2 separate regions of the Homo sapiens genome follow, and region 1 is linked to region 2. Evidence: promoter capture Hi-C in human tissues and cell types (Jung and others, 2019). All regions are on one chromosome and are shown on one strand. The core of a region is centred on a gene start or on the middle of the fragment in contact, and the rest is flanking DNA. Distances in the headings are between cores, read along the strand shown. Region 1 overlaps TRIM71 (tripartite motif containing 71). Region 2 holds the start of DYNC1LI1 (dynein cytoplasmic 1 light intermediate chain 1).

The links. Contacts are between HindIII fragments. The study calls those that stand out against the background at their distance.
Region 1: a fragment that was not itself captured here is called in contact with the fragment with the promoter of DYNC1LI1 in region 2 in 1 of the 25 tissues and cell types used here (liver).

Annotation. Positions count from the first base shown.
Region 1 is chr3:32,880,627-32,883,326 of GRCh38, forward strand. The region is part of intron 2 of TRIM71 (tripartite motif containing 71); the gene reads left to right. Among named protein-coding and RNA genes, the nearest start is that of TRIM71, 64 kb to the left of the region's middle. The HindIII fragment of the contact is 5,549 bases long and covers 1-2,700 here.
Region 2 is chr3:32,569,505-32,572,204 of GRCh38, forward strand. DYNC1LI1 (dynein cytoplasmic 1 light intermediate chain 1) reads right to left here and starts at 1,354. Exons shown (of 13, transcript NM_016141.4): 1 at 1,121-1,354; 2 at 842-915. The coding sequence starts at 1,266. RefSeq lists an enhancer at 562-1,347 and silencers at 622-1,111, 1,292-1,551. The HindIII fragment of the contact is 21,345 bases long and covers 1-2,700 here.

The DNA of each region.
Region 1 (2,700 bases), core at 32-2,531, 310 kb after region 2:
CATAACAAGAACAGCATGGAAGATGTAGCACCTCATCACTGTTGTAGGGCATTTAGGGGGCAACCACTCATTTTTATTGCTTTTTTGAACATTCTGTTACTTTCACTTTGCTGCTTTTCTTGAATATATGACATTTTGGTCATGTATGTTATTAGAGGATTCCACAAGGTAAACTGATTTGCTGGGGATAGCGATAAACAGGATCAGGAATAGTTGGTTTCTACATAAGAAAGTTTTGATTCTTCAATTACTATATTTCATCACATTTAAGATGCCATTAATTGTAAGGTGTACATTTATTTTACATACAACTAACAAAGGAAGAAACCCACGGACAATTTAGAGATGAATTATAGATTCAGAGAAAGATGTGATGAAAATTTTATATATGTATATATATATATTTTTTTGAGGTGGAGTCTCACTCTGTTGCCCAGGCTGGAGTTCAGTGCCACGATTTTGGCTCACTGCAACTTCTGCCTCCCGGGTTCAAGTGATTTTCCTGCCTCAGCCTCCTGAGTAGTTGGGATTACAGGTACCCGTCACCACACCTGGCTAATTTTGGTATCTTCAGTAGAGACGGGGTTTCACCATGTTGGCCAGGCTAGTCTCAACTCCTGACCTCAGGCAGTCCACCTGCCTCAGCCTCCCAAGAGTGTTGGGATTACAGGCATGAGCCACTGCGCCTGGCCAAAAATTACATTTTAGAGTGCACCACAGTAGCTCCGCATACCCAGTATGGTCGCCTACAAGTGTATGGGTGATGATTGCATTCTCTTACCTTCTGACCGTTGGGCTCTTTAAATACCACTGTTCTCCACAGTTGGCATCACTGATCGATATCTATATTCTTTCCCTTGAGAGCCAGATTTGGCCCAAGTCTCCACCATGCTGACTGACTGCCACTCAGTAGTCAGCTGGAAAGTGCACTGATTTGCCAGTCCAAATGTAGACCCTCAACTTTTAAATGTTTAATTAGATCTGTTAACATCCCAAAGATGGTTAAATTTTCTCTCAAGCACCATGCTTGTTGGGTGATTTCTCTTTTCTTACTGTGAAATGTATATATCTGTTTTGGAAGTTTACCCAGCCTTTCTACATTGTCATTTCCCCCAACCTATCTGCCCTGTATGTCCTTCAGATGCCCTGCTGTTAGAGGTTGGGAACTAGTTCAATAAGTCCTGGTCTGCACATCTTGGAATGCCATGCTTGGCTGGGTCGTGCGTAATTTGGAAGGGAAAGACCTATTTTTCCACTATGCATTGGGTAGGGCTTTTGTGACTCTCAGCCCAAGGAATATCTTTGCATGCTTGCTGATTATTAAAATTGCAACAAAAGCTTTGAATCCCCCTTTGAACCTGTTTGAAAAATGGAAGAAGCAATTTTTGTCATAAAATGTGAGTTCCAGACATGAGGGATAAGCGATAAGCCTGGCTAGGAGACTAGGGGAAGAGGTGAGTAGGGTAGTACACCCATTCCTATGCAAAGGGAGTGGTGTTTTTGTTTTTTTATTTTTTGAGACAGAGTTTTGCTCTTGTAGCCCAGGCTGGGTCTTTTTTTTTCTTCTAACATATGATAGAAGTTAGATGTAAAAAAATCAATTTGGCAAGTAGTATGACATTAATATTAATAGAAAGCAGTTTGCCACCTCTGCTTTCTATTGAGGAAGGATTAAGAAATGTTACAGACATAGGTTTGGTTGCCTTGGTGAAATATTAGCTTGGACACCAGTTGTGCTAATTAATAACCAACACATCTAAAAATATAGAGGGTGCCGGTTACTAAGTTCTACTCTTTGGGCTCTAACCCTGTCACACTCTTGCCATGTGACACTGGGGCTGTGACTCTTCAAACTACATGTATGGGAAAAGGACTTCTTCCCTTTTTCTTCCAATTCATATTACTTATATTATTATCATATTATATATTTGTTTTGAGACAGAGTCTTGCTCTGTCACCCAGGCTGGGGGGCGCGGTGGTGCAGTCACAGCTTGCTGCAGCTTCGATCTCCCAAGACTCAAGCAATCCTTCCAGCTCAGCCTCCCAAGTAGATGGGACTATACACAAGCGCCACCATGCCTGGCTAATTTATTTTTTTGTAGAGACGGGGTCTCACTCTTGGCCAGGCTGATCTCAAACTCGTGGGCTTAAGCTATCCTCCTGCCTCTGCCTCCCAGAGTGCTGGGATTACAGGTGTGAGCCACCGTACCCGGCCCCAATTTTTAATAGCAATTCTTTTTCACCCTGACAGCAGAAGTTGGTTTCAATTTCAGATCTTGCCACTCTCAGAATTAGCTGGATGTAACCTCACCATCTTATTCTGGGTTCTTGTAACCACAGCTTTCTTTCCTTTGTTCTCTCAGACAAAGCAGAAGAAGCTGCTTCTGCAGGTACTCTCTGCCTCAGTGTGCTCTTTGCCCCAGCAGTTCTCCCATACCTGTTTAACCATTTCCCTATGCTAAATTCTGTTTAAATGTCTAGGGAGCTCTCTTGCTCTCTCTCGCTTTCTCTCTTTTTCCCTGGATGAATCCTGACAGCGTGAGATACTAAAAATGTATCAATGCTATTATGATACCTGCTTATATGCATGCTCATTTGCTTGGCCATTCTGATTTTTTAACTTTTAGGTAATGTGGATGTAATATCTGTCTGCTTCACTTTATTGGCTTCTGTATTAGTTTATCGGGTCTGTTGTAACAA
Region 2 (2,700 bases), core at 104-2,603:
AAAGTTTTTAAATTTAATCATCGTATAAGCCAAACTTCAGTTATCTCGCATGTAAAGAGCTATATAGAGAAATTTCTCCTATAAATGATTCAGGAGCTAAGCCTAGAAAAATGCGAATCTGCGAACTATTCTCCCTCAGTCCTCTATCCCCACCCCCAGAGTCACTAAAGAAACAGAATACACAACTTCCAGAGAGCCGAGGAGATACAGAACAATCAGGAGAACTGACACTGGACCGTTTCTCCTTATTACATCCATTTGGCTGAAAAGACTTAACTAGAAAGTTGTGTTCTACTGCCCTTTACAAATTTCAGAATTATATGTGACAGTTAAGGTAGCTGCAACACGAGCACATTGTACCAGAGAACGCTGAATCAAGAACATTTATCGCCAGGTCTTAGTTCTAGCTTCTGTCAATTATACAAAGAGTCAGCTATTAAATATTAATGGCATGCCATTTGCGCTGCAGCTCTCGCAAAGAGCCTCCTGCTACCAATTTTTGTGATGAAAGAAAACCTGTCATTTTCTAGATAAACCCCAGGCCACGAGAATCCCTCAGATGAGCGATCGAATTCTGTCCTTCCCAGGGGAAGCTGTCAGGGCCACCCCCATATACCGGGGAGGAGGAGGAGGAACCTGAGGGAGGGCGGGTCCCCGCAGGTCCTGGGTCAAGGGTCTCGTGTTCCCCTTCTCTCCCAGCCATCCGCGACAGGTCGGGAGGCGAGGCGGGGCGGGGCTGGGCCGGCTGTCCGCACAAAGAGAGCCAGCGAGCTAGCCCGCGGACCAGGTACCCCGGGCCGCTGGGGGCCGGGCGGGGCGGGGCGAGGCAGGGAACACTTACCCAGCAGTAGCACGTTCTTCCCCGCAGGGAGCTTGGAGCGCGAGCGGGTGGAGACCTCGCTGAGGATGCAGGACCTAACGGGAAGCAAGGCGTACGGTGAGGCCGGAGGCCGGAGCCGCAGCGCGGGAGGGACGGACCCGGCCTCGGCGCGCCGGGGATGGGGCTGCCGGGAACGCAGTGGCCGGGCCCGGCGCCGAGCTCCAGCGGGCACGGGATCCCGAGGCGTCCGCGCAAGGCCGGGGGAGCCAGCGGGGGCTGAGGGAGAGGTGGAGTCGTTACCAAAGGTTCTGCCCGTCCTCGTCGTCGCCTGCCGCGGCGCCACCGTTGCCCGACGCTATCTCGTTGCCCAAGGGGCCGCCAGTGTAAGTCGAGGATAATCCCGGCGGAGAAGAACCGAAGGAGCCGACTCGCCCCACGGCCGCCATCTTGGTCGGGAATCACACCACTCCCGGCAAGACTAAATGTGCGAGGCGGCTGAGGCGGTGGCGGTGGAGGCGGCGGGAACCCGGATATGGGGCGTTCAGCGCACGGGAGCGGGGCGGGGCCTGCGGGGGCGGGGCCCCGGGCCGGGCCAGGACTGATGGAGCGAGCGAGAACGGACTGCGCGTGCGTGGCTGCCTGGCCGGCGCTGAGGGGCTGAGCGTACGCGGGCGGCGGGGTGGGCCGCTATGCTGCAACTGAAGCCCAGTGATCTGACAGTATGGAAGTGCTTTCCTTCCGCTCATCCGCGGCCCTGGGCTGCGGCAGGGGGGTTGGGTGTGTCAGGTGAAAAGTGCTCCCTCCCACCCTTCAGACAGGTCCCCAAACCCTGCGGCCTGCGCGGAATTCCTGCATTGTCATTGCCGGCCCACCCACTGTTCAGGCTGAGAGCGGTCCCCCGCCCAAACCGGCGCTTCGCCGGCGCCAAGATAGAAATGGGTCGCCCGGCTGGTAAAGAGGCTGCCCTGCAACCCTGGGCTGGAGTATTGCTGTGGTCCTGGATTTCTGGACTTTATTTGCGTTCTCAAGTGGCGAAGTGTTCCTCAACCTGGACCCACATCAGAAGCAGGTTCTCCGAGCCCCTAAGCAGCGGCGTGACAAAGTAATTGTTTACCCTGGAAATAGACTGTTATTTTTTAAAAATTATTGTCAGGGCTTGCTTTAATGTTCTTAATGTTTTTGTATGAGATCCTCCATGTGAGATTTGAAAAGATCCACTATGCGGGTCATCTAACCGGTCACTAGACATTGATTCCACACTTACTACGTCGAGCACAGTTGACACTGGGAATACATGGATGGACTTATACTAGCCCTAAAATAACTCCTTTTCTATTAGAACTTTACTAGGTAAAGGTATTTGAATGTCTGAACTCCATGTTTAGAAGGAGTCATTGGTTTTAAGGCTCTGTCCTAGTACACCTGTAAGAGCATTTGCTTAAAATTGCCTGGCCTTTGTATGTTATCTCTGTCACTTCATATTTGAAAATCACTTGCTAGAATATGGCCTGATCAATGCTGTTATGCTAGTGAGAAAATCCACAACTAAAGACTATTTGCTATATATTAGCATTACGGTTAGAAGTCTGGAAGCCTTTGGAGGCTGGCAAATCTGAGTTCAGGTCTAGCTCTTCGAGTTTACTGGCTGTGTAACCTTAGGCAATTTACTTAACCTCCGTGAGTCTCAGTTTCCTTATCTGTCAAATGAGGATAAAAGAACTTAGAGTTGTTATTGAGATTAAACGGGATGATTCATGTAAAATGGCTTAGAATAACGACTGGCAAATCTTAAGCGCTTACCACATGTTAATTGTTATCAATGACTTTCTTTACCTTTCACACCATTAATATCTGACCAACCTCTAGAAGTGATGGGCCTA